Linked DNA regions of Homo sapiens: regions 2, 3, 4 and 5 are each linked to region 1. The links are contacts of gene promoters, found by promoter capture Hi-C in blood cells and fetal thymus (Javierre and others, 2016). All regions are on one chromosome and are shown on one strand. Each heading gives the region's core, a stretch centred on a gene start or on the middle of the fragment in contact. The rest is flanking DNA. Distances are from core to core; before and after follow the strand shown. Region 1 holds the start of SLC1A2 (solute carrier family 1 member 2). Region 2 overlaps APIP (APAF1 interacting protein). Region 3 overlaps LOC102723568 (a long non-coding RNA gene). Region 4 holds the start of LOC105376624 (a long non-coding RNA gene). Region 5 overlaps LOC102723568 (a long non-coding RNA gene).

What was found. Contacts are between HindIII fragments. The CHiCAGO score rates a contact against its expected background, and 5 or more counts as called.
Region 2: a contact is called between a fragment that was not itself captured here and the fragment with the promoter of SLC1A2 in region 1, in 12 of 17 cell types (naive CD4 T cells, activated CD4 T cells, non-activated CD4 T cells and 9 more). The highest score is 10.7, in naive CD4 T cells.
Region 3: a fragment that was not itself captured here is called in contact with the fragment with the promoter of SLC1A2 in region 1 in 1 of 17 cell types (activated CD4 T cells); the score reaches 8.1 in activated CD4 T cells.
Region 4: a fragment that was not itself captured here is called in contact with the fragment with the promoter of SLC1A2 in region 1 in 6 of 17 cell types (non-activated CD4 T cells, activated CD4 T cells, naive CD4 T cells and 3 more); the score reaches 6.5 in non-activated CD4 T cells.
Region 5: a fragment that was not itself captured here is called in contact with the fragment with the promoter of SLC1A2 in region 1 in 1 of 17 cell types (activated CD4 T cells); the score reaches 6.7 in activated CD4 T cells.

Annotation. Positions count from the first base shown.
Region 1 is chr11:35,418,204-35,420,903 of GRCh38, forward strand. It overlaps SLC1A2 (solute carrier family 1 member 2), which reads right to left and starts at 1,355. Exons shown (of 11, transcript NM_004171.4): 1 at 747-1,355. The coding sequence starts at 763. SLC1A2-AS2 (SLC1A2 antisense RNA 2) reads left to right here and starts at 854. Exons shown (of 2, transcript NR_186310.1): 1 at 854-904; 2 at 2,333-2,700. RefSeq lists an enhancer at 1,001-1,501. The HindIII fragment of the contact is 13,046 bases long and covers 1-2,700 here.
Region 2 is chr11:34,892,111-34,894,810 of GRCh38, forward strand. All of the region lies in intron 2 of APIP (APAF1 interacting protein), which reads right to left. Among named protein-coding and RNA genes, the nearest start is that of APIP, 23 kb to the right of the region's middle. The HindIII fragment of the contact is 221 bases long and covers 1,225-1,445 here.
Region 3 is chr11:34,856,581-34,859,280 of GRCh38, forward strand. The region is part of intron 6 of LOC102723568 (a long non-coding RNA gene); the gene reads left to right. It overlaps LOC105376624 (a long non-coding RNA gene), which reads right to left. Exons shown (of 2, transcript XR_931185.2): 2 at 1-62. Among named protein-coding and RNA genes, the nearest start is that of APIP, 58 kb to the right of the region's middle. The HindIII fragment of the contact is 3,549 bases long and covers 1-2,700 here.
Region 4 is chr11:34,873,454-34,876,153 of GRCh38, forward strand. The region is part of intron 6 of LOC102723568 (a long non-coding RNA gene); the gene reads left to right. It overlaps LOC105376624 (a long non-coding RNA gene), which reads right to left and starts at 1,825. Exons shown (of 2, transcript XR_931185.2): 1 at 1,714-1,825. The HindIII fragment of the contact is 2,044 bases long and covers 403-2,446 here.
Region 5 is chr11:34,836,910-34,839,609 of GRCh38, forward strand. The region is part of intron 6 of LOC102723568 (a long non-coding RNA gene); the gene reads left to right. Among named protein-coding and RNA genes, the nearest start is that of APIP, 78 kb to the right of the region's middle. The HindIII fragment of the contact is 6,181 bases long and covers 1-2,700 here.

The DNA of each region.
Region 1 (2,700 bases), core at 105-2,604:
TAGTTATCACTGCGAGGGAGCTTTCCCCATGCCAGCTGGAATCTTGGGAGGCAGGACACGACTCCAGATCCTCGGGCTGAATAGGGAAGCCAATGCTATCCCTGCCCGCTGGAGTCTGGCGACTCCTGCCCTTGTCCCAAACCACACGTTTTCCCGCCTCCCGGGAAGCACCCAAATCTCTTCCACCCTTCCTTAGAGCTAGCCAGGGAGATTCCGCCTTCCAGGGACAAGGACCGATCGGAGCGGGCCCAGCATCTCCATGGCGACTCTGCAAACCTGGCGTTCAAGGCCGCGCGCGCTGGTCCTTGCCCCGCCCCAGGGCCCTGTCTTGGCTCATTCCTTCCGAGCCGGCACCACCTGCAAGCCCGCCTCGGGCCTGGGGCGCCGCGCTCCAGGCGCTGCTACCCCGGTGTCTGCTCACACTATGCCCAATCCCCTATTGTTTTGAAATCCCAAAAGTAACCTCAAGAGGATTTCTTCCTCACACTCTCAGGCCCCCAGCGCACCTTACCCTTTTTATCAAAATAAAACAACCCTCCACCTCTCGCATTTTCAAAGGATTAAGCAGCAATCTCCAGGAAAGAAAATCAATCCCCTCCCCACCATCCCATCCCCAGCCAAGCTACGGCTCCGCCACCACCTCCGAGGCCCGCCGCCGCCGCCTCTCTATCCGCATCCCGGATAGGGGCGCCACCACCCCGCGCGTGACCCCGCTTTCCCGCGGGTACAGATAAAAATCCCCTCACCCTTCCGTAGATGCCATGGTCTGGGGAACGCCCCCTCCTCTTCAGCACTATCCGGCAGCTGTGGGCGAGGGAGAAAGCGGACGCCGGGGTGAGCGCGAAGTGCGGCCGGGAGCGGTATTTAAGAGGAGCCTCTGCCCGCCCTTCCACCCGCCTCCGGGGTAAGCCCTTTAGCGCCTCAACGGGCGCAGGAGGCTCCTGCGGGCGCTAATCCGCGTCCCGGCTCTCCACGGCGCGCGACCCGCGCTCCCCTCCGCCCGCGGGGATGGCGCTTGGCGGGGAGCTCCGGGGGCTCCGAGGGTGGCTTCCCCGAGAGAGCGATGCGCCCAGGGCTGCAGGAGGGCGCACGCCGGCGATGCGCCCCTGCAGCCGCTGCCACCTGTGCTTTGCTGCGGGGCTCGCGGGCGCGGCGAGTGGCGGGAGCAGAGAGTGGTGGCAGAGGACGGTGAGCGTGCGTGCGCGTGTGCGGGTGTGTGCGCGCCTGGGGAGGCGGTGGAGGCCGCTGCGCTCTGGCTCGGCGCCGGCCAGGGAGGGATTGCAAGGTTTAGCCCCGCCGGAGCTGGGGATTTGCAGGCGATCCCTCTCTATTTTCGTCGAGAGCTGACATCACCCGCGCCGCCGCCTCGGGCAACTCCTTTAACCGCCGCCCCCCGCCCCCATCTCCAGTCGCGGTCCCTCCTCTGCCATCCCTCCCCCCAGCCTCTCGCCATAAATTAGCCAAATAAGAAAAGAGGCCCCGCCGCTCGTCCGGGAAGGCTTGGGCAGCCGGTGGCAGGAGCCCAGGATCTAAGGAGTAGCTATTGTTTCCCCTGAAGCCCGCGTGGCCCCAGGTCACCCCGTGCGGGGTGAAGCGCAGGCGACCGCGCGGAGACCCGGGATGCCCCTCCGTCTCCGCCTCCCTGGAGCAGCCCCTGGCGCTCCCTCCTCACTCCCCGGAGCACCCGCTTCAGCTCACACTCACCCCCAAACTCACAGGCAGGCACACCCACCCCATCCTCCCACGTCTGGGGGTCCCAGGTCCAGCGGAGTCGAGCGGCTGAAACACGCGGGTGGTGCAGCCTAAACGCGGCCCAGCTGCGCTCCCTCCCCCGCCGAAGCTCGAATAAATCTCTGGCCTTCAATTATTCAGCGAGATTAATATTAATGCAGCTCCCTGGGGGCGGCGGGCGGGGTGCAGGGGAGGCCGGGATTTTTTTTTTTTTTTTTTAGGCCGAGAGAGGTCGGCCTCGTGGGTGCCGGCTGAGAAGGCGCGGAGAGTTGGCCGAGGGGTGAGTGGCGGGGGACGGTTCTCCACCCACTCGGCGCTGCTCGCCGCCTGCTTCCGTGTCCCGGGGGCGGCGCACAGAGACAGATGGGCTTGTGCAAGGGAGAGTTCGAGCCTTCCGGACGCCTTTGCATAAAAATGACGAGACCTGTGCAGCTTTGATTATCTCTGGAATACTGCAGGAACCTAGGGTCCCACTACTTGCCGACCCTGTGAGCGCAGAGCAGGCAAAGCCTCACTTTCCTCGTCTAGGCAATGGAACCCAAAAGAACTCACTTGGAGGGCCACAGGAGAATTAAACAGACTCTCTTTTTCCCCGGGGTAGACGATCTTCGGATTTGCGCTGTGCTGGACCTTGTTAGACGATGGAACGCGACCGGCCACGTGCAAACTCTCTGAGTAGGTCCCGGGGATGGTGCCAGAGGAGCCGGAGTCCCAGCAGGACCGATTGGTAGTTAAATGCCAGGCGCTGATATCCGAAGGCTTGAGTTCTTCACCACCTTCTAGCTGAGTAACCTGGGGCAAATTCCTCCATCTCTCTCTTCATCCCACCTGTAAAATGGGACTATCTTCTCCCACTTCTCTGTGCTAAGAGAACTAAATGAAATGGAGAGGATATGTAAAACTCCTAAAGTGGCGTCTGGCACCCAGTAAACCCTCCAAAAATATTCAGTGCATTTTCAGAGTCCTTAG
Region 2 (2,700 bases), core at 85-2,584, 530 kb before region 1:
TAGACTTTGATGAACTTTGGGTAATTAAAAGATTAGCCAAATGTTTTAGAAAAATATATTTACACCTACAAAGAAAGAGATATCTGGATAAAAATATAAAAATGACAGAGCTTTTTAGAATAGAAACATGCCAAATATTAAAGTGAAATATCTACTTGGTGCTTTAAGCCACAAACAGAAAGCATTTTGAATTTCAAGTTACTAAATTTTGGAATATACTTCTCTGTACTCCTGCATTTTCACTGTGGTAAGCAAGGGCCAAACCCCAAGAGGTCAAAATACATCTATGTTCAGTTGCTTCTATTTTTATTTGCTTTCTGGTCAGTTAAAAAATAATTTAAATCTTATAGTGCCTCAATTATTTTGTCTACAATGTGACTTTATTAATTGTAGTCCTAATCACATGCAACAGGATCAGTCTCTCTGACACCTGTCAATATTACTCTGTGAAAACAGGAAATTATAAATTTGAATGATAGCGACCCAACCTAAACACAGTAGCTATTGAGTATCCTGGAATTGCCTTGATTACTATTATTTTCTTGGTCATTTATTTCCTTCTTCTGACTTAATTTTTGGTACCACATACTTGTAGCATAAGCTGGAATGGTCCAGTCAAATCTTGGAATTAGTAAATCATTTTATGTTCCCAAAGAGCTTATTGTCTGTATTATTCTGGAAACATAATTTATTGCGTTTGCATTTTATTCCAAATTTATTTGCCCTAAGCATCAAAGAGCCAAACTTTCACTAACAACATGAGAATAGTATTGCTGATAATGCTAGTGACTTATTAAGTCATTTAAATATTAGGGAAAAAAACCAACATTTTACTACAAAATATTCATTTTACTATGTAAAGCACAAATTTAATAAGATTCCAAATACAGTGCCATGTGACTGTGGCTCTTTCCTTCCATGACCTCCACACCCATTAAGAACTAAGGATAAAGCATTTCACATATATGATGAAAATTTCCTATGAGCTGATTTTAGTGCTATAAAAGCCCATTTAATTTTAAAAGATGCGCCAATGAGTGGTTTATGGTGGTCACATAAAATGGTAGTGCATGGATTAGTAAAATTCTACTAGAAAGAACATAGTCCTTTATGTCTTTTTGATCAAAAATATTTCATCTTGAGTCCTGCATTCACCTATTTTTAACTTTGCTAGTTTTTTTAAAGAGCCAGTTGGAAATGGTTATTTTAGCTCATTTGGTAGAAAGCTTTATTTTATACATACACAAACTATTTCTGAACATGCAAATAAAAAGCAGTTAACTAAAGACAGCATTTAGAATATGATTTATTATAAATAATACAGTTGGGAAACTATATTACTGGGACTCAACTTCTAAATGGATACATGAAACAAGAATAAATGTTGTTATCGTAGGATTTGCTGTGAATAGGCCATCTTGAAAGTTTTGGCAAAATAATGTGAAAGCTTGAGCAATGCTGTATTTACACATTAGCAACTAGGCTGATGGTAAGAGAGGAGGCACAGATGGATTTATTGATCTACCATATGGAACATAATCTTACTAGACTGAGAGCATACTTTTATCCCTAACTGTGCCAGTTGTTAACAGAGGAACCTCTTGTCATTTCCCAATGTTCAATGAAAATTTCATGAGTTAACTCAGTAATTTAAAGCAGATAAAATTATAATGGCATCATCTTGTGGTGTACCATTGAATCCCTTTTGTTCCCAATGTTCTGATTATATTTTACATTCCATTCCTTAATATGCAATGCAGCCTCCTTGGGGGCATGACTATATATATTCAACAGCACATAAATATTTTAATAATCCAATTTTGTTAAAGAAAGTGAATTAGAATGAAGTAATAAATCAACATCACTCAATTTAACACACAACCTCCAGACAATAATATTCCTAACACATTTCAGGAGGAAAAAAAGATTAATCCTGTATTGGAAATCCTTGAATGAGATTCTATAATCTTAATTTCATTGATAGCAAGTTACTTCTTACTCACAGTTACTAATACTTACTTTATTTCTTCATCTTCTTGAATAAATGACACTAAATAAATACAATGAGCAATTGAATACTATTTATCCTTTCTGCTTCAATTTAAGTCCAGTACATCTTGTTTTGTCCTCTGAGGAATACAGATTAGCAGGCACTATATTCATTAATGATACAGGTGCTTAGAAAGCATACTGCCGTTCTTTTGATTCAATAAAAAATAATTATTAGGATTTTTAATGATTAGTCATCTGTATTTAAGTGACTTTGAAATATGTATCTGGGAGGTCAAGGCAGGTGGGTTGCTTGAGCCTAGGAGTTTGAGACCAGCCCATGCAACTTAGTGAGACCCAGTCTCTACAAAAAAAAAAAAAAAAAAAACCCCAGAAAAAATTAGCCAGGCGTGGTCGCACATGCCTGTAGTCCCAGCTGCCCAGGAGGATGAGGTAGGAGGATTGTTTAAGCCTGGGAAGTCAAGGCTGCAGTGAGCCATGATCGCCCCACTGCACTCCAGCCTGGGTGACAGAGCAAGACTCTGTTTCAAAAACCAAAGTACCTGAACCTTTGAAACAAATCCTATCTACCTAGAGAGGATCCTCTAGAATCTCAGGTATATGAACATACTTGGTAGCATGTTATTTAACTCTGGTACTCAAAAACTGAGTATTAAGTTATTGTGATTTGAAATTGTGGATCTTCAGTCT
Region 3 (2,700 bases), core at 149-2,648, 560 kb before region 1:
TAGGCATAGTGCCTAGGCTGAGGCCCAAGAACATTTCAAGAGATGGTTAAAATACTTGAGATCTGGAGGAGAAAAATAAAGAAGAAATATTTTGATTCCATTGAACAATGTGATACCAAAATTTTTAAATGTGTAGTGACATAGCTGCAAATTATGACATAGGCTAATTTCATCAATTATTAAATTAAGTATTCATAAACATCTCATTATAGGTGCAAGCATTTGTGGATTAGTTTTTCTCACTTGAATCGTCTTACAGGTACCCAATGATTGCTAAGAAATCATAACCAATTTTGAATCAAAGGAATTACTAATACAAAAATAATTTGAAAACCAAATTAGAAAAAAACTACATTTTTTTGCCCCCAAATTATATTGGATGTGTGTACATCTGAATATGTTTCATAAGATATGGGAGGAGCTGCCTAGGACTTAGGGACCCTCAAGTGCTCTGGGTAAGGGTCATTTCCCTTCCCTGGGATACTCTCTGTAATTGTCTATACAGTTCATGTTCTTTCTCTGCTTTAAACTTTTAAAGGAAATTCCCTTTTCTTTATTCTAATCCACTGGGCTCCTTGACTATTTCTTTAGCAACCAAATGTAGAGAGACTTCACATTTACTTGTGTTATGGACAACTTACATTCGTATATTTTTATTTTGAGGCCTTTCTTGAATCTATTATATGTATTTATGCTATATTTCAACTAAAGTGAGATACTTGGATGGAAAATCATTTATTTATTTATTCATTCATTCAATGAAACTACCATGTGTTGGGTGCTTAGAATATGAAGTTGAGTAAAGCAAAATACTTGGCCTGTTCTTTCAAGACATTCACAATCTCGAAAAGAAGGTAGGCAGGAAAGAAGATAAGTTGCTGCACAATTGCCTCCTGGCTGTTGACTATCTGTTGCTCAGACTGCTTCTGGGCTCAACAAGTTTTTATTTATTTAATAAGCAGTTTCTGTGTGTCAGCACTATTCTCAATGCAGATGCTGTTTAACACTCTTATGAATTTATTTCTCGAGGCAGTCCTATGAGGCATTACCATTATCCCCATTTTGCAGATGAGGACAATTGAGACACAGAGAAGTTGAGTAATTTGCTTAGGGTCCTTTACACAACAAATAAGTAGCAGAGGCGAAATTTGAACCCAACCAGCCTGGCCCCAGAGCCCATACTGCTGGTTTGTAGGTTATGAACTAAACCATATGATCAGTACTAGTGGGGTTCAGAAAATGTTTCATAACTAATTAGGCACAGTTCAGATGAAATAGGCAGGGAAGTCTCCACTAAGGAAGTGATATTTCAATTGCTTTGTATGCATAGAAATTTGTCCAACAGATACATTTGGAGTACAGGATTAAGGAAAGGCATTCCAAGTAGAAAGAAAAGCCTATGGTATAGTCTATATAGATAAAACAAATATGTACCAATATTTGTTTTGAGAAATGCAGATAGTGTATATGGCTGGAACTTACTTTGCTTAGAGGGGATTGATAGAGATGGGACATGAAAGGAAACCAAGGAAAATCTAATCTTGTTGATCATTGTAAGGAGTTTGGCTTTTGGTCAGTTTTGATTTGGGTCTGTTAAATGTTGGTTGCCTCCCCTCCACTTCTACCCCTTCAATGAAAGAAAATATTGATCACTTTAACTATGCAGAAAAACGATTTTAATATGAATGGAAGAAAATGCCACAAAGTCACAAGTCAACCAACAAACTAGAATAAAATATTTGTACTGCACAGCACAGTCCGTTTTTCTTAATGTACTAAGTGTGAATACAAATCATTACAAGATTAAAGAAAAAGACCAACAAATCAAGAGACAAGCACCGAAACAGAATTTTTTTTTTTAAAAAAGGCATTTAAACATTAGTAAAGGTGCTTTGCCTACTTACAGTAAGAGAAATGCAAATGAAAACAAGAATAAGATATCATTGTCACTGTTGGTTCAGCAAAGACTGAAAATTTGGTAACACCCTGGCCTGGCCAGAGTTTGGGGAAACAGCCACTCGTATTGCTGGTAGGATGGTGACCTGGCACAACCTCTATGAGGTTTGTAATTGAGCAGTATCTACCAAAATCACACATGTACATATTTTTCAACCTGACAGTTATACTCCTGGGAATTTATTCTGCAGGTAGATTCACACATGGGTATGATATACTTACAATGATATGTATGTTATAACATTATTTGTAATAGCAAAACATTGAGGAACAAACCTAAACTAATAAAATTAAATAATTGATTAGGTCTCTTACGTGCATCCATATCATAAAATTCTTTGCTGTCTTTTTTTAAAGAGAAAGAGGTGGGGTCTCACTTTGTCACTCCAGCTGGTCTCGAACCCCTGGCTTCAAGCAATCCTCCTGCCTCAGCCTCCCAAAGTGCTGGGATTACCTATGTAAGCCATCGTGCCCAGTCACTTTGGTGTCTTTAAAGAGCAAGTCTGTCTGATATGTATCAATGTGGCAGAATCTTCAACACCTGATTTAAAAAAGTAGAGCACAGAATGATGGGTTAGGTTTGTTACCATTTGTATGTGAGTGTGCATTTAAGGAAATATATACATATAGGCTTGAAAGTGCATTAAAGACTTCTGGAAGAAGTGTAGGAAATTGGTACATTGGTCGCCTCTGGGAAAGGAAACATTGCAGTTAAGAAGAGAGGGATGGTGCACTTCTACTTCT
Region 4 (2,700 bases), core at 175-2,674, 540 kb before region 1:
GAACTATGTAACCAGAATACCAATAAAAATATTACTAATAAAAATGTTACCACAGTTAGCTTTCTTCTAGTTTTCATGGCTGTTAATCATTTGCTTCCTTATAATTTCCTAGACTTGTGCTTCCTCCTTTAAGATGTAAGTATTAGAAGGCATTTGCTTTTAAAAAATTCAATTTTCATCAAATTTTAAAATCGTATCCAGTCTGTAGGCTTCCTAATCCATTGTTTTATATAACTAGAAATATCTTCTTAGTGTCTTTATCCATGCCTGTTCCAGATAGCTTAACTGAATGAAAATTACTGAAGGTCCCTAAAGCTACTAAATGAGGCTTTTTTTCCCAATAAAGAATAAACTTCTGCAGATTTTCAGCTTTTTTTCCAAAATGTTTTCATATATCTTTAAAGCTTTCTCATTAATTATAAGAAATCTTGCCCTAATTGCTTTAAAACAATGTGCTGAGAAAAATTGTGTATGAATCCATGCAATTTCCATATTATACCAATGTACCAATATCATTCCTTTATTTACCAATTTTGTATGAAGTAATATACATAAAAGACTTGAGTCTCATCAAGATTAATGCGAGTTAGCCTTTTATTTCATGCAATTGCATAGCATTTGGTTTGATATACTATTAGACATTGTGTAAGACTCTATTATGAAATAAATCATCTCAAAATAACTTTTAAAAAAGCAAATCTGTTCATCTCTTCTGACTCAAAAGGCTGAAGGTGAATCCAAAGGTACTGCTAAATCCAAGTACTAAAATGCTGTAGTAGAAATATTTCTATATCTTGGCTCTGCTTTTTATACTTTTCTTTGTGTGTTGGTTTCATTCTCTTCAAACACAGACAGGCTTTCTTTATCTGGCAGTGGAGTTGGGTCCTGGCACCTCTCCTTGAGTTAGGAACCTAAGACTTTGAACCCCTCTGTAGGCAGGGAAATGGTGTGCTATGACTGGCCACGACTGGCCAGGTCCGGGTCACGTGGTTATGGCTGCAGCAAGAGGGCAGGCAGAATACTGTGACTGACATCATCCCAGAGCCTCAAGGGATGTGGGTGAGTGGAGGTGGCTCCTATGAGTGAGGGAAACTGGGTAGACACCAACAGCAGCTTACCTCTACCTACGTACCAACACTTGAGCACTGAACAAGTACTGAGTACGAAAGAAGATTTGCTGAAATTTGGAGTTACAAGACCCTTAGAAAATGCCAATCAGAAAATGAAAGTTAAGTGATTCTGCTCAAGGTCAATGTAAAATTATTAAAAATGCTAATGATATGGGCAGGAGGCGAGGAAATACTAGGTAGAAGAGGGCAGTTCCCTGGCAAAGGCCCCACCCTCAAGCCTGGAAACCCATGGACCTAAATGGGAACAGGCATCCCTGTTTTCACGCCCAAATGTTGCCTTTTCTAAGACCACTCTGGCCTGCCATGCCCCTATTCTGTGCCCACATAAACCCCAAGCTCCACGAGCAGAGGAACAGAAGAGTAGCAGAACGACAGAGCAGCAGAGTGGCATGGCATAGAAGAAGAGAAGAGAAGGAGCGTCTGAACATCAACAGGAGTTCAGCTGGGGACAGTCAGAGAGGAGATCGGCTGTGGGGCAGCCAAACTCTGGGGGAATATCACCTTCCCATTCCATCCTCTTTCCAGCTCCCCATCCATCCCACTGAGAGCTACTTCTATCACCCAATAAAATCCCTGCACTCACCATCCTTCAAGTCTGAGTGACCTGAATCTTCCTGGACGCTGGATGATATGGTTTGGCTCTGTGTCCCCACTCAAATCTCATCTTGTAGCTCCCATAATTCCGTGTTGTGGGAGGGACCTGGTGGGAGATAATTGAATCATGGGGGCGGGTCTTTCCTCTGCTGTTCTCATGATAGTAAGTCTCACAACATCAGATGGCTTTAAAAATGGGAGTTTGCCTGCACAAGTTCTCTCCTCTTGCCTGCTGCCATGTGAGATACGCTTTTCACCTTCTGCCATGATTGTGAAGCCTGCCCAGCTACGTGGAACTATGAGTCCAATAAGCCTCTTTCTTTTGTAAATTGCCTGGTCTCCGGTATGTCTTATCAGCAGTGTGAAAACAGACTAATACACCGGACAAGGATCCAGGTACCAAGAGGGCAGGGTGTAAAAGGCTGTCACCCTGACTCTCTACTGAGCTGGTTTAACACTTAGCCGTCCACAAATGGCAACTACTAAAAGAGCATTAATTGTAACACACCCCTAAACGCTACTGGGGCTGGAGCCCAAAAGCACTCGCCCCGCCCCAGCTCTTGCCCCCGCCCATCCGTGTGCTCGCCCTCCCGAAAGGAGTTCGAGCCTGTAGTGGCTGAGCACATGAGCGACACCTCTGTCATAAGTCCTGTGAGGGATCAGGGAACTCTCCCGTTTCACTAACATATGCTGAGAAAATGGGTGTCAGGTGAGAAAGTCTAAGCTTAAGACAGAAGATTAAAAGAAAAAAACAAAAGATGTATGTTTAAAGAATAAAAAGGAAGAGAAGAAAAAGGCAAAGAAGAAGGTTATAAGGCAACAAATAAAATCTCTCAAATTAAGAATAAATGGACAGAAGGAATTGAAGGGAAGAAAAACTAGAAGGAAAACCTCAGTCCTAGGGTGTGAAAGCATTAACAAGGATTATGAGTGATAATAGACATGTATTATTTTAGATTTGGCTTATTGTAGAGTT
Region 5 (2,700 bases), core at 126-2,625, 580 kb before region 1:
GTGAGCTGTGGTCACACCACTGCACTTCAGCCCGGGTGACAGAATGAGACCCTGTCTCAAAAAATAAAATGTGTTTCAAACTTAATCACTCAACACCCTGCTGCCCTTAGCCAACTCACTTGGGACGTTTCAGATGGAAGGCAGCAGCGGGACAAGTCTCTGCAGAAACACTGGGGTTTAGGTGCTGCCATTAACAATGCAAATTCAGGGGAGTGTCAGCTGATTTATTCAACAGCACCTTTGGCATGTCCTCGCACCCCACTCAGTTTCATCTATCATCCCCTGTCAGCCCTGGGAGCGGGCTGGATGGGCTACATGTGCTAACCAAGTTCCATTAATATTGTCTCAGGGCTCTGGATTTATGGAGGCTTATTTCTTAATTTTTGGATTCCAATGATTACAGTTATGAGATCCTGTCATAGTCCTGTAGGCTCTCACCCTCTCTCTGAATGTTTCTGTTTTCTTTACCAAGGAGCAGACAACTCATTTCCTTCTTTCTCAGCCTGCAGGGTCTGGCCCTGTCTGCCTCTCAGAGTGCACTGCCAGCCCCTACCCTGGCCCTCTCCAGCCTCCAGTAGCTCAGCTGACCCCATGACCTTTGCAATGCTTCTCTTTTCTCCTTGTATACCTCTCCCCTTCCCACCTTTCTCCATTCTCCAGCCTCTTCTCCCAGTTCAGTGAGTCTCCACTGGGGGTGATGCTGCCCTGCAGGGGACATCTGGCAATGTCTGCAGGCATTTTGACTGTCACAACTGGGGCTAGTGGGTGGTGCTACTGGCATCTAGTGGGTGGAGGTCAAGGCTGCTGCTCAAGATTCTACAAGGCACATGACAGCCTCCCCTGCCTTCAAAGAATGATCCAGCCCAAAGCATTAATTAGGGCTGAGATTGAGAAACCCTGCTCCAGCTAAGCAAATCATCAGCTGAAACTCAAGGATCACTTTCTCTCCTGGGGAAGCTGGCTCAGAGGGCACTCTCCTGCCATCCTCACCCCAACACCACCACCATCACCACCCAAATGCACACCAGACTATGCCATTTTCAGGGCATACCCCTTCTTTCCTTTAGGGTACTCATTTTAGTTTGTCCCCCATTGTATTTCTGTGCTCTGTGTGATGAGTATCTACCCCCACACTCAAAGCTGCACAAGATCGGGGACTTCTTGCTGATCCTGTATCTGTGTCTATGATCGAGTGTCTGTGTCTGTGATCAGCACTGGATCCCCAGGGCAGAGCAGGTTGCTTGATGCACAGTAGGTTCTCAACAAACAATTGAAACAATCAATGAATCCTCCTTCTATGCCTCTTTGGAGGGCCCACCAGATTCAGGGCAGCCTCTAAGACCTGCCGAACTGAAATTGTGGGGAAAGGGTCAGCCTGTGTGTACCACTGGGAGCAGAGAGTGAGGGGTGAACACATCTGGATAAACTTCCTCACCCCTCTGTCAGCAAATATTTATTGAGGCACTTATTTTATGCCAGGAACTGTTGGATATTAATTGCAGTCATGTACAAGACGGATGTAAGTCTTGACCTCATCGATCTTTGATCTTTTGGAAAGACAGTCATCAAATGAGTGATGAATGTTTCAAAGGGAAAGGAAGTGGGGCTGTGGATACCCATGCTGGGAAAATCTAAACTTGTCTAGGTGGGAAGGATGAAAGGGCTCTTTTTTCTTCTTCCTCTTTTGTGTGGTCCTCCTCTTTGACCTCTACCTCCCATCTCAGGGCTGGGATTAATGTGACCTATGTTCAAAGTTATCTTTGGGAATCATCCCAAAGCAGATAGGCACAACCTAAGGGTGTACAAGACAACTACTGGGAGATAAATAGAAAATATTAGATCTTGTTATATTTATTTTAATGTCATCCTTGTTTGAATTTTTATCTAGGAGTATGTTTTATAATCTCCAAATTGGGTCCATAGAAGCAGACTCTGAAACATAGAGTTGCAGGCAGGTTTGTTGGGGAGTAGTCCCAGTTGGTACACTTGGGACTGTATCAACTTGCCACTATATGGAAGTGAGGAGGGCAGTACTGGGCATAGGAGAAAGCTGACCTAAAATGCACATGCAACAGAGGTCTCAACAAACCCTACCGGGAGCTCCGGGGCTGTGATAGCCCTTGAGAGTGGTCTTGCATTGAGGCAATGGAGTGGGGTCTTTATATCCCCATCAGTCAGTCACTGGCTACAAGCCACCCTCTGGGAGTACATGGCCTTGGGTGAGCTGTTTGTTATAGCCAAGGGCAGTTTCCAATCAGGAATGTAGCTGTGAGGCTTTGGCAACAAATATTTCCAGTTGCTGGGAGGTGGTGGCATTAACTCTAAAGAGAGGGTCTAGGCAGAGCACCACAGTGTCCACCACAAGAATCTATTTCTACAGCAATACATGTGAATTCCACACGTGTGCGCATGCATATGCATGCACTCACATACACACACACTTCAAAAATTGTGTGTGTGTGACCCAAAATGTTATGCTGGTAGGGGCATGCCATATAGATAATGTGGTGACCACCAATTTAGAGTAGATGTACCCAAATGATAAAAGGAGTTGTTTTTATCAGTCTGCCCCCACTCTCCCATTATCATTATGGGCATCATTTCAAAAACGTTTCTCCCAAGCTGCTATAATAAATAATGCATTTATTCCCTCATTTTGAAAATAACAAAGGACAAAACAACTGTGGGTGATAGAAAACA